2 separate regions of the Homo sapiens genome follow, and region 1 is linked to region 2. Evidence: promoter capture Hi-C in human tissues and cell types (Jung and others, 2019). All regions are on one chromosome and are shown on one strand. Each heading gives the region's core, a stretch centred on a gene start or on the middle of the fragment in contact. The rest is flanking DNA. Distances are from core to core; before and after follow the strand shown. Region 1 overlaps GANAB (glucosidase II alpha subunit). Region 2 holds the start of ASRGL1 (asparaginase and isoaspartyl peptidase 1).

What was found. The method cuts DNA at HindIII sites, captures the fragments that hold promoters and counts their contacts. A contact is called where the count stands out against the background at its distance.
Region 1: a fragment that was not itself captured here is called in contact with the fragment with the promoter of ASRGL1 in region 2 in 1 of the 25 tissues and cell types used here (hippocampus).

Annotation. Positions count from the first base shown.
Region 1 is chr11:62,630,692-62,637,990 of GRCh38, forward strand. It overlaps GANAB (glucosidase II alpha subunit), which reads right to left. Exons shown (of 24, transcript NM_198334.3): 5 at 4,130-4,309; 6 at 2,754-2,823; 7 at 2,493-2,580; 8 at 2,314-2,410; 9 at 1,874-2,054; 10 at 339-492; 11 at 1-145. Among named protein-coding and RNA genes, the nearest start is that of GANAB, 12 kb to the right of the region's middle. The HindIII fragment of the contact is 6,117 bases long and covers 2,133-7,299 here.
Region 2 is chr11:62,335,785-62,342,559 of GRCh38, forward strand. It overlaps ASRGL1 (asparaginase and isoaspartyl peptidase 1), which reads left to right and starts at 1,664. Exons shown (of 7, transcript NM_001083926.2): 1 at 1,664-1,790; 2 at 2,106-2,383. The coding sequence starts at 2,194. RefSeq lists an enhancer at 1,575-2,244. The HindIII fragment of the contact is 36,513 bases long and covers 1-6,775 here.

The sequences.
Region 1 (7,299 bases), core at 3,941-6,440, 300 kb after region 2:
TGTTCAATGTCTAGCCAGATGACATCACAGGGCAGGTTGTGATCATCAAAGCCCTGATCCACTTCCAGCACATCAGCCTCGTCCCGGTAGTTCCAACGGCTCTGGTGGTAGCCGAGGGAGAAGAGTGGGGGCAACGCCTGGGTTCCTGCAGGTTCATGAGGGATGGGGGTCACAACGAGGATCAGGCCCAACACCCAGAAACTGAGGGAGGCTTGTGAACTAGAGGCAGGCTGAGGGGTATAAACCTAGAAAACAAGCTGGGGCACAGGATCTCTGAAAACACATAGAATCACCCGACAAGAAAAGAGCAGAAGAATGAGGCAGGGAAAACCATGTACCTGTGAGACTAGCATATTGCCGGAAAACATCAGAGATGGAGGGCCCCAGCAGCAGGAAGACGTCAATGATGCCAGTCTCTGACATCCAGCGAACATCTGTCTGTGGGGTCTCCCCAGAGCCCTGCAGGTAGTCCATCATCTTCCCAAACAGGGTCTGTATAGGTGACCACAAAGGGGTCAGACACCTCCTGCCCTCCCATTTTCCAACCCCAAGACAAAAAGTAGCAATTTTCTCCCAGAGTCCACACAGAGCTGGCTCATGTAAGCTGCTTTCGGTAAGACTAAACGGGGCCTCTTCAGTGAGGCTTTCCTAGACCACACTATCTAAAGCAGTACAGCCCCCACCCCTACCCCACCAGTTTGGGGTGGTTAAGTGCTAACAAAGACTCTCTTTCATGTCTTTGTTAGCACTTAATCACCCCAAACTCATCTTGCATTCTTTTTTTTTTTTTTAGACAGAGTCTCACTCTTTTGCCAGGCTGGAGTGCAATGGTGTGATCTTAGCTCACTGCAATCTCCACCTCCCCAGTTCAACCAGTTCTCCTGCCTCAGCCTCCCGAGTAGCTAAGACTACAGGCGCACACCACCACACCCAGCTAACTTTTGTATTTTCAGTAGAAACAGGGTTTCACAATGTTGGCCAGGATGGTCTCGATCTCTTGACCTTGTGATCTGTCCACCTCGCCCTCCCAAAGTGCTGGGATTAGAGGTGGGAGCCACTGCACCCGGCATCATCTTGCTTATTATTTTTATTTTTCAAACGTTTTTATAGAGATGGGGTCTCGCCATGTTGCCCAGGCTGGTCTCGAACTCCTGGCCTCAAGCGATCCTCTTGCCTCAGCCTCCCCAAGTGCTGGGATTACAGACATGAGCTATCATGCCCGGCCCCATCTTGCCTCCTTTGTTATGTGTTTAACGTGTCTTCCTCCCTGTGAGTCAGAACCTTTCTTTTTTTTTTTTCTGAAACAGAGTCTCACTCTGTCACCCAGGCTGGAGTGCAGTGGTGAAATCTCCGCTCACTGCAACCTCCACCAACCAGATTCATGCAATTAACCTGCCTTAGCCTCCCGAATAGCTGGGATTACAGGAGTCCGCCGCCACACCCTGCTAATTTTTGTTTTTCTAGTAGAGATGAGGTTTCGCCATGTTGGCCAGGCTGGTCTCCAACTTCTGACCTCAGGTGATCCGCCCACCTCAGCCTCCCAAAGTGCTGGGATTACAGGCATGAGCCACCACACCCAGCCCAGAACCTTTTCAACCTCAGTTAACACTATATCCCCAGCACCCAGAAGAGTACCTAGCACGTAACACACTGATAATAAGTGCATTCCGTCAGCCCAGAATAGGCAATGCCTTCCCTAAGAATGTGAGTGAGCGTGTCACCTGGGAGTGATTAGGGAACTCAAATGCTGCCCACCAGGCCCACAGCCCCTTCTTAAACCCAGTCCCCAAATAGCTAATGCCCCTAGTATACCTATTTGCCTCAAGGCCTGGAAGCTTCACTCCCTCCTTTTTCCCCGTGCCTGTGCTCTCACCTTCCCGGCAGTGTTGGAAGATATATCAACCCAGGTCTCTGCAGCATTGAGCCAGAAGATGCCCAAGTCGCGATGAGGGTTGTGTGCCAGGAGCACAGGCACAGACCCATACAAGGCCATTGGGTTGTACAGCTCATACTGGAACACATCCAAATTGTAGAGGCGATATGGCTCCCCACCCCTGCAGGCAAACAGACAGACTTGGGCTGCTAACTGGCCCCAGGCTGCGTTATATGCTAACACCACTCCACAGACACAGGTGAGAGATAAGCAAAGGCTCCTCTTGTCCTTTCTCAAAAAATTTTCTATCACCAAAGGTGATTCTGGACACAAGAAATGACCCATGCTTGCCTAGAGTATCCAATATGCACACCCATCTCCCTAAAGGCCTGACTCCTTCCTGCCCACCTCCATCTTCCTGATGTCACCATAGGACTCACTCAGTGACCTTCAGCCTCAGGTTGTCTGCATGCTCAGGGATCCCATAGACATGCTCCATGCCTGGCAGAGAGAAGTCCAAACCCACAGACATGGGGCCTGGAAGAAAAACAAACAAGCTTCAGAGCTTCTGCTTGGAAAGGAGCCCTGCACCCCAGCCCAAGGAACCCGAGCCCCTCACCATACGGCTTGCTGTCAGAGTGAGTTTTGAATGTCTCCTCCCAGGCTCCTGGCTCATCTTTCTCTGCCTTCCCCTGAGTCTCCTCTGGCTGTTAAGAAGAAAAGAGGACCACTCTCCAATCATACCAGTTCTCTCTTTCCCCGCTCCCATCAACTAAATCCCATCCCTGATGGGGAGACTAAGTTCAAGTTTCTCATGGGCCTCTCCCCTCCACCCTCCCAGCCAGCCCTATCCTCCAACCACCCACCCGCTCCAACTTGCCTTGTCGCCATCCCTGGGTGTTTCCTCAGGCTGGGCCCCATCGCCCTCAGCTGGGTCTTTTGATCCTTGCCTGGAAGGTAGGAGAGCTGTCTGCTCCAATCCAGAGGGGGCAGGGACGAGGGGCTAGTGGAAGGAGGGGTTGGGGAATAGAGAGCCAAGGGTCCAAAGGAACGAAGGCATTGGAGGAAGGGACTAAATGTTAAAGCTTGGAGAGGGAACCCACAATGAGCAGATAAGTTTGCAAAGGATGGGGAGAGAAATGAGAAAGGAAAATGAGGAATAAGTGCCACCAGGAGGCACAGGCCTGAACACCAGCCTCTGTCAACATCCCAGAAGAGAAAGGCAGAATGATTCAGGGGCCTGGGTTATGAATGCCAATCCTGGCTCTGTTGCCTCTACTGAGAGATTCTGGCCCCAAGTGCTCTCCCTGGGCCTCAGCCTCCTGGCCTGACACAATGGCTTTGCAAAGGCATGTGGGTCATACTATACCAAGCCTCTACAGACATACATAGGGACTTCAAGAGATTCTGCCAAAAAATGCTTTCAAGGGCAAGTAGCTCTGCCCAGAACCTCAGGTGCCCCTCAGCTGAGAGTCAGGAACCCCAGCAATAGGCAGCATCTCTCCATCCCCTGGCAAAGCAATAAGCTCCCTACATTCCCGAAGGACCTGACTTTCAGTATCTCACCTTCCTTCTTCTGGGGGCTCCCAGCCAGGGTAACAGGTAACAGGACCAGACATCACACAGCAGGGGAAAGTGGGGTGAGTGAAAGGCTGGAAGGGTCTGGGGCACCTCCCCCCAAAGGCTAGAGTGAGGAATGGGTAAGGGCAGAGGAACAGATACAGTACCGGTGGCCATGGATTTACCTAGAGAAAAGGTTCTTGATCTTATCCCATATGCTACCAAGCGTGAGATTAACCTTATCCGAGAAACTGGGGCAGGAGGAGATGGGTAGGGAAGGGGAAAAAGAGGCACAAAACCAACACAAAAACAGAAACATAAAAGTGAGTTTCAGTCGACAAACTTCCAGAGATGGGGGGAAAAAGAAACCAAAAAAAATAAATAAATAAAAACGAAGAAAATAAATCTGGGAAATGTGATGATGTGAGAAGGGGAAGAAGGAGACACAGACCCAGGCAGGCCTCCCAGAGATGCCCAGGGTACAGCTCAGGGACAAAAGTGACTGCCTCCTGGTCTGTACAGGAAATGGAAAAAACCGCACCCGGGTCTGGTTCCTACCCTCCCTGACAGAGAGCTTCTCCCAGCCCCCAGGCCCTACCTGGCTGTCCCACCACCGTCTCCTCCCCGTGCCAGACCTCACAACACCCCTATGCTCTTTCACACTAGGTTCCCTGCAGTCCCAACCCCTGTACTCACGAGACCCTAGGGGCCCTCTGATGCTCAAACTCCAAGAGTCCTCGGGCATTGACACTAAGCAAAAGACTTCGGTCCTCTAGTAGGTCAAGGCGGAATGGCCGTGCTGTCAAGATGATCTTGTAGGGTCCCTCAGCCATGGTTAACTCCACACTGTTCTCATCACGACCAGAGACAGAAAGCCTGGGAAACATATCAAAAGAAATATAAGGAAGTACAAAGGGCCAAGAGGAGTAATGACACTTTAGAAGACCGGGGGAAATCTACCTGTTAAGAGAAATAGGCAGTGTGGTAACAGAGCAGGGATAGACAAGTTAATAAACAGAACCAAAGGGCCCAGAAACAGACCCAAGCATATTTATTACTTTTTTCTTTTTTTTTTTTGAGACGGAGTTTCACTCTTGTTGCCCAGGCTGGAGTGCAATGGCGCAATCTCGGCTCACCGCAACCTCCGTCTCCCAGGTTCAAGCAATTCTCCTGCCTCAGCCTCCAAATAGCTGGGATTACAGGCATGCACCACCACACCTGGCTAATTTTGTATTTTTAGTAGAGATGGGGTTTCTTCATGTTGAGGCTGGTCTCAAACTCCTGACCTCAGGTGATCCACCCACCTCGGCCTCGCAAAGTGCTGGGATTACAGGCGTGAGCCACTGTGCCTGGCCACTTATTACTTTTTTAAATGTACTAAATACTAAGAGGTGGCATAGCAGATGAGAGAGGAAAGGAGAACTATTCAAAAATGGAACTGAAAAAACATTTTCCATATAGGAAAAAAAATGATTTTCCAAATATGAAGAAAAATGATGTACTTCTTTTTTTTTTTTTTGAGATGGAGTCTCGCTCTGTTGCCCAGGCTGGAGCACAGTGGCACAACCTTGGCTCACTGCAACCTCCACCTTCCAGGTTCAAGTGATTCTCCTGACTCAGCCTCCCTAGTAACTGATATTACAGGCAGGTGCCACCACACCCGGCTAATTTTTTTTTGTATTTTTAGGAGATATGATTTTTCGCCATGTTGGCCAGGCTAATCTCAAACTCCTGACCTCAAGTGATCCACTTGCCTCGGCCTCCCAAAGTGCTGGGATTACAGGCATGAGCTACCACGCCCAACCCCTTGATATCATATTTCTATCTAATACCAGATACAAGTATCAACTGCAGAAAGATTATGACTTAAAAAATTTTTTTTTCTTAAGATAGTCTCACTCTATCACCCAGACTGGAGTGCAGTGGCACAATCTCGGCTCATTGCAACCTCTGCCTCCCAGTTTCAAGTGATTCTTGTGCATCAGGCACCCGAGTAGCTGGAATTACAGGCGCCCACCACCACGCCCGGCTAAGTTTTGTATTTTCAGTAGAGACGGGGTTTCACCATGTTGACCAGGCTGGTCTTGTACTCCTGACCTCAAGTGATCTGTCCGCCTTGGCCTCTCGAAGTGCTGGGATTACAGGTATGAGCCATCACACCCAGCCTGCTTAAAATTTAAAAGTAAAAGCTTTAGGATGGGCTCGGTGGCCCACTATTGTAATCCCAGCACTTTGGGAGGCCGAGGCAGGTGGATCGCTTGAGCCCTGGTGTTCAAGACCAGACTGGGCAACATGGCAAAAACCCATCTCTACCAAAAATACAAAAATTAGCCAGTCTCATAACCCGATCTCAAAATAAGTAAATAAATGAAAGCAAAAGTGTTAGAAGAAAATTAAAAAATATATTTTTGGCCAGGCATGGTGGCTCATTCCTGTAATCTCAGCACTTTCGGAGGCCGAGGCAGGTGGATCATGAGGTCAGGAGTTTGAGACCAGCCTGGTCAACATAGTGAAACCCTGTCTCTACTAAAAATACAAAAAGTAGCCGGGTATAGTGACGCACGCCTGTAGTCCCAGCTACTTGGGCATAGTGGCATGAGCCTGCAGTCCCAGCTACTCGGGCATAGTGGTGCACGCCTGTAGTCCCAGCTACTCAGGCATAGTGGTGCACGCCTGTAGTCCCAGCTACTCGGGAGGCTGATGCTGAAGAAAGAATCGCTTCAACACAGGAGGCGGAGGTTGTGGTGAGCCAAGATCGCACTACTGCACTCAGCCTAAGCAACAGAGCAAGACTCTGTCTCAAAAAATATATATATATATATTTTTTTCTGACCTTGGGGTAGATAAAGACTAAATACAACAAACAAAAGGCTAACAACAGAAGGTAAAAGACTGATACATCTAAATACATTAAAATTAGGAATTTCTGTTTATCAAAAGTACCTTTAGGATCATTAAGAAAAAGGAAAAGTCTAAGAAATTTTATCAGTCTAGAGGGCCCTAAGGAAACATGACAACTAAATGTAATAACATATCCTGGATGAAATCCTGGAACAGAAAAAGAACATACACAAAAACTAAAGAAACCTCAAGTATGAACTTTAGTAACTAATGTATCACTATCAATTCACTAGGTATCACAAATGAACCATAGTCATATTAATAATAGGGAAGGCTGGCCGGGTGTGGTGGCTCAAGCCTGTAATCCTAGCACTTTGGGAGGCTGAGATGGGCAGATCACGATGTCAGGAGATCGAGACCATCCTGGCTTGCCCAGCTTCAATGAGGGCTTCTTATAAATCACTGGTGGAAGTGTAAATTGGTAAACCACTTTGGCTTTATCTTGCGAAGCTGATCATCTCCATATTCTACAATCCTGCAATTCCTCTCCTAGTTATACACCAAAGAGAAACTCCCAAGCAAGGATAACAGGAGACATGTACAAGAAGGTTCGTAGCAACACTTTGGCTAGCAAAACACTGGAAACAACCCCAAGGCTTATCAACCTAAAAATGGATTAATCAGTTGGGGTATATTCATACAACATAATAATATGCAGCAGTAAAAATGAATGAACTAGAGCTATATGAAATGGAATTAAATAAAGTTATGTGAAAAACGGAAACCCAGCCGGGCGCGGTGGCTCACACCTGTAATTCCAGCACTTTGGGAGGCTGAGGCGGGCGGATCACGAGGTCAGGAGATTGAGACCATCCTGGCTAACGCAGATCACGCCACTGTACTCCAGCCTGGGAGACAGCGAGACTCCATCTCAAAAAAAAAAAAAGAAAAAACGGAAACCCCAGAAGACCACATGCACTAAGACACTTCCTCTGTAAAGCTCAAAAACAAAAAATATATATAAT
Region 2 (6,775 bases), core at 414-2,913:
CAAAAAGATGCTTCCTCTTTCCTCCTCAAAGACCAGAAGTTTATTTTCTAGAGAATTTATCTAAGAGACTTTGGATTGGGATGGGGAATACGAAGCCCATCAGAGAAGTAGATAAACGCATGAGGCTGAGATGGGAGGATCAAATGGAAACCAACATTCTACCTGCTTGGGCCACCAGCCACCTTCCCCAGCCTCAGCCAGATCACTGAATTCCAGATCAATCAGGAAAAACAGTAGAGATGGGGTTTGAGTTAGGGCTAGGCATAGGGTAGGGTTCAGGTTCCTATAAATAGCTGAAACCAAATGATGGTGAGCTGTATTATGATGACACAACTAGGCTCACGACCAGTTGAGACGTGCTAAAATAACCCTCTTCCAAGAGGTGAGTGTGGGAGACAGAATAACGGCCCTCAAAGGTGTCACATCCGAATCTCCACCTGTGAACACTCCTCACATGGCAAAAGGGACTTTGCAGATGAGAATAGAAATTGTAAGAAAGGGAGATTATCCTGGGTTATCTGGGTGGGCCCAATGTCATCCCAAGGGACTTCCTTTAAGAAGGAGGCAGGAGAGTCAGAGTCAGAAAAGAAAATCGTGATGATGGTGACAGAGAGAGAAGTGACGTAGCAGCAGAAACAGGCCAGAGGGAGAGAGAGTTAAAGATGCTAGGCTGTTGGCTTTGGCAATGGAGGATGAGGCCATGAGCCAAGGATACAGGCAGCTTGTAGAAGCAAGAAAAGACAGATTCTCTTCTGGAGCTTCCCGAAGGAACTCAACCCTGCAGACCCAGTTTGAATTTCTGACCACCAGAACTGTAAGATAATGTGTGTTGTTTGAAGCCAATAAATTTGTGGTAATCTCTAACAATAGGTCACTAGAAAGGGAATGACTGATCCTTAGTGGGGTGCCAGGGAGAAGGCTTTGCAGGAGGGGTTCATTTAAACTGGGCCTTAAGGCAGGAAACGAAGGTAAAACAGGAGTAAAGGGAATTCCCAAGAGTGGTAAAATATGTTATCAGTTGTGGGTAAACAAGAAGGGAAAGGACTCTCCTATCCACAGGAGATCAATCACAGTTTGCCTGGATCTGTCCCTGTTTATGCCCATTGTCCCAGTATAATTTTTTTTTCTTTTGATTCGGAGTTTCACTCTTGTTGCCCAGGCTGGAGTGCAATGGCGCGATTTCCACTCACCGCAACCTCCGCCTCCCAGGTTCAAACGATTCTCGTGCCTTAGCCTCCAGAGTAGCTGGGATTACAGGCATGCGCCACCACGCCCAGCTAATTTTGTGTTTTTAGTAGGGACAGGGTTTCTCCGTGTTGGTCAGGCTGGTCTCGAACTCCCGACCTCAGGTGATCCGTCCGCCTCGGCCTCTCAAAGTGCTGGGATTACAAGGCATGAGCCACTGCGCACAGCCTAGCGTTGCTTTTCAATCTGCAATTACAAAATCGTGGCATGCCACTTCACGCTTCTCGCCACCAACCCAACCACCCAGCCCCTAGCCTGGTCAGGAGCAGGAGGTTCCCCGCGTGCCACCAGGAAGCTCGGGCCGGCCAAGAGCGTAGACTCTTGAGAGGAGTGAGACAGGTGCGCGCCAGCCGGCCTTCGGGGCTTTATGGGAACTGGGCCGTGCGGCGGTCCCGCCCTCGTGCGCAGGCGCAGAACCGTTGTGACCAGAGCGGTTGCGGGCTGAGCGGTTTCGAGCCGGCGTCGGGGAGCGGCGGTACCGGGCGGCTGCGGGGCTGGCTCGACCCAGCTTGAGGTCTCGGCGTCCGCGTCCTGCGGTGCCCTGGGTAAGTCGGCGGCCCTCCCGGAGCAGCCGCCCGAGACGCGGGAGGGCGAATGAAATAAACGAAAATAGACATTTTCCCGAAGGCGAAATAGACATCCTCCTTCGGCGCCGGGGCTTGGAGGCGGGCGGCGGTGGGCGCGGGTTAACGTCCCCGGGGAAACTGAGACCCCCAGCAGGTCCGGGCCGGGGGCGGAGAGGAACGCGGGAGGGCGCCGGGCCCCTGGGCTTTTCGTACCAAGCTCGACCGAGCCGCCCCTACCCACCCCCAGCTGCGAACCCAGCCGTTCAGAACAGAGACTGGGCATTGTCCCCACAGGGTCTCCCGAGGACCTTGTACCCGCGCGGCTTCCTTGGGCTGGCTTTGGACGACGCTTTCGCCTTCCTGCTGCCTAGGATCCGCCGACATGAATCCCATCGTAGTGGTCCACGGCGGCGGAGCCGGTCCCATCTCCAAGGATCGGAAGGAGCGAGTGCACCAGGGCATGGTCAGAGCCGCCACCGTGGGCTACGGCATCCTCCGGGAGGGCGGGAGCGCCGTGGATGCCGTAGAGGGAGCTGTCGTCGCCCTGGAAGACGATCCCGAGTTCAACGCAGGTAAATGTGCCTTTCAGCTAGTAAATAATGTGAGTCAGGTCAAGCTCCTTCTTCAGAATAAATAGAACCTACATAGTGTTAGGGAATCTAATGAGCTTTGGGGTGAAACTAAGTATGTAAAAAAGAAACAATATTTAATTTTTCTACCTGTGCTGAAAAGAGTCAAACGCTAAAATATTTGTAGAGATTTATACTGAGGCAAATATGAGTGACCAATGGCCTCTGATACAGCTCTTGGGAAATCCTGAGAATGTGTGCTTCTGGAGAGACATAAGATGTCAATCAGTACATACAAGACATACATTGGTTCCATCTGGAGAGGTGAGACTACTGGGGGAGGGGGAGTGGTTTCCAGGTCATAGTTAAGATTCAAAGATTTTCTGATGAACAATTGATTTAAAGTTTTGTCCAAACACCTGGAATCCACAGAAGGGAATGTCTGGATTATATAAGGACTTGTGGCTGCAGATAGAATTAATAGAAGGCGGTTTAGCACGGTGGCTCACGCCTGTAATCCCAGCACTTTGGGAGGCCAAGGCGGGTGGATCACCTGAGGTCAGGAGTTCGAGACCAGCCTGGCTAACAGGTGAAAAGCCACCTCTACTAAAAATACAAAAGAAAAAAAAAAAAAGCCAGGCGTGGTGCTAGGAGCCTGTAACCCCAGCTACTCGGGAGGCCGAGGCAGGAGAATAGCTTGAACCTGAGAGGCAGAGGTTGCAGTGAGCCGAGATCACTCCAGCCTGGGCGACAGAGCGAGACTATCTCAAAAAAAAAAAAAAAAACTGAAAAAAGAAGGGAATGTCTGCATTAAGATAAGAGGTTGAGGAGACCAAGATTTCCCTTAGGCAGAGGAAGTCTCCAGGTAGCAGTCTATTGAGAGAATAAATTGTAAATGTTTCTTATCAGAGTTGATTCTCTCCTGAATCAGGAAAAAGGCCTAGAAAAGGAAGGGGATTCTCTTCAGAATGTAGATTTTCCCCACAAGAGATAGCTTTAGCTTTGCAGGACTATTTCAAGATATGGCGAAGAAACGTAATTTGGGGTAAAATACTTCACTTTCAGGGCTTGCTATCTGTCATGTGATGTCATACTAGAGTCCCGCTGGAATTTGGTATCTTATTGCTACAAAGTCTGCTTTGTCAGTCTTAAGATCTGTTTTAATGTTAGTGCTGGTCAGCTGGGCCTGAATTCCAAAAGGGAGGAGGGAATAATGAGGCATGTCCTACCTCCCCCGACAAGGTTCCAAAGTTTTCAGGTTAACTTTGGAGTGCAGAGTGTATTCCTTTGTGTTTCGCTTCTTTCACTCAGTCCACCCTTTTTTGGAATACTAATCATTATAGCTAATATGAGTATCTACCATGTATCAGGCAGTGGTCTAAGAAATTTGCTTGATTTATTGAATCTGAACATTAAATGAGTTGATCATGTAACTCTCTTAAGTTGGTTAACTTGTGTTAAACTAACTCAAGTTAACTCATAATGAACATTAAATGATTCACTTATGAGTTAATCACTTAAACTCAGTTGAGTTAAATGAGTTAGGTATAAGTTAGGCATAATTATTATCCTCATTTCTCAGATCAGACTAAGGCATAAACAGATTAACTTGGTGGAAGACATTCATCTCTTTGTTTTAAAATGGCAAACCTAAGATCTAGGCTAGAGATTGAAATACTTCCTGGAATTATACCACCCATCTGTCAGGGAAAAGAATTTCAGGAAATCTTAATTAATCATCAAATATTTACTCTTGTTCTGTCCCCTTTACGCAGCACTCTTTAACACTTGTGAAAAATTGTGTAATTCTTCCTGAGACCGGTGCAGTGGCTCACGCCTGTAATCCCAGCACTTTGGAAAGCTGAGGTGGGCGGATCACTTGAGCTCAGGAGTTCAATGCCAGGCTAGGCAACATGGCAAAACCCCATCTCTACAAAAAAAAAAAAATACAAAAATCAGCTGAGCGTGGTGGCACAAGCCTGTAGCCGCCGCTACTCAGGAAGCTGAGGTAGGAAGATTCCTTGAGCCCCAGGAGGTCAAGGCTGCAATGAGCCAAGACTGCGCCACTGCACTCCAGCCTGGGTGACAGAGTGAGACTCTGTCTCTGAAAATAAAATTAAGTTCATCTGAATTTAAAATGAGACCTAATAGTGTGCTTTCATGGCTCCATTTGTAGAGCCAGAATTTACCAGATAGGCACTGACTTTGCCAGCAGAGGGAGCAGCCAGCTCTTTCTGTGGGTGACTTGTTAAACCTTACGCTTCTTAGCACTCAGCACCCCCTGGGCTGTCAAACCCTCACTTATTTACACAGGACCTTCATTTGAAATGGGTCATTCTGGTTTCCGACCATCTCTTATTCTAACAATTTGTCATCTGCATGCATTGGGAAGCACAGATTAGGGAATTGGAGCAGCTAGTTCTCATTTTTTTGCTCTGTATCCAGAGGCCTTCCTTCTCAACGTCTGCCCTCTCATCTTTCAAATGTCCTCTATTCCGCATATTGAGGAAGAAAAGAGTAGAGCTGAAAAGAGGGAAAGCAAAGATTATGGGGGGAAAGGTGGGACTTTTAACAGCGTACTGTGGACCTTGGCTTTTCCCAGCCAAGGTCACTACCGGCAAGCAATATTCCCAGCATCCTCTGCTATAATCCTCTAGAATAAATAACTGTTTGGGAACTTCATACAAAAAGCTGACTCCCAGTAGGTATTGAGTTCAGTGGCAGTAATTAGCATTCATGACACAACTTGCCTGAACATTTGTAAAAACATTATGTTTATTTACATTCTATTCCTGTTTCAGTGTGCATTTGACTTTATGTCAAATTGAAAAGTGGTTGATTTTTAGATACCAACACTGTAAAGACTGAACTTTTAAATTTGAATGCTAGGAATATTCTTTAAAAACTTACTTAGATTGGCAACCAAATGACCATTTGCTTTCACTGGAGCTCAGCGATATTTACACAGCACTTGAGATATTCTCTCTACAATTCAATTTACAAGCTATTAGAGAATCTTTGAGATAACAGGATTTTTTTTTTTTTTTTTTTTGAGACTGAGTCTCGCTCTGTCACCCAGGCTGGAGTGCAGTGGCACAGTTTCGGCTCACTGCAAGCTCCACCTCTCAGGTTCAAGCGATTCTCCTGCCTCAGCCTCTCGAGTAGCTGGGACTATAGGCACCCACCACCAGGACCAGCTAATTTTTAGTATTTTTAGTAGAGACGGGGTTTCACTGTGTTAGCCAGGATGGTCTTGGATCTCCTGACTTCATGATCCGCCCACCTCAGCCTCCCAAAGTGCTGGGATTACAGGTGTGAGCCACCACGCCCGGCTGAAAACAGGATTTTTTTCATTTATCCAGTCTCTTTCTGGACTTACAATGTAGAATCAATAAGGTAAAAATCTGTAGTGGGGTCTAGGAATTGGTATTCATTTCTTTGTTTTGAAGATTCCCAGGTGATTCTGAGATACAACCAGGTTTAGAATCTACTAGCCTAATACCATACAATTTTAATGGGTTTGGTGTTGGTTTGTTGGTATAATTTGCATATAGTAAGATCCCCTTTTTAGTATACAGTTCCATGACAGAGACATATAGTCATGTAACTGCCACCACAATCAAGATATAAACCAGTTACATTACTCTCCCACATCCCTTTGAGTCCACGCCTCCATTCACTCCCAGCCCCTGGCAACAACTAATCTGTTTACTATTCCTGTAGTTTTGTCATTTCCAGGATGTCGTATGTTTGAAATGTTTGTTTTTTGGTGCTGTAAAGAAATAGTATTCGAACATTAATTTATTTTATTTAGTAAGGCCGTTTTTATTTTTTGTTGAAAGGGTACACTTGTCAGCAGTTTTGTCCCAAGAGTATACTGAACAAAGGAGACAGGGTTATTTATAACCTGACGCATTTACCCTACTGCTGTGTCCGGTTTCTATTGGCTGAAACGGGACCTTACATTTTCTATTTGTTTCGATTGGCTCGCAACTTAGAATTTTTTAAAAGAGGCAAAGGTAGAGGAGAACAAAGGAAGGAGGAAGTAACTTGTGGGATGCTGAGATAGGTAAAAACACCTTTAAATAAGGAAGAGGAACAGGCTGTGACCTAATGCTTGCTTGGACCAGTATAAGCCTTCCAGGGCAAATATTTAGGCTAAATTGTGGGAGCTAAGAACGTAAAGTACAGTGATTTGTTTATTATGGCTAGCAGATATTTAAGAATGTTAGCACAGGTCTTTGAATAAATTTTGCTTCTAAGAGAAGTTACTGTTTATTCCTAATTAGGGAGCAAAGTCTTTGAAGAGGAACCTCCACTTCACTTTTTACACATAAATGGCAGCACTTTTGGAGGCCGAGGCGGGTGGATCATTTGAGACTAGGAGTTCAAGAG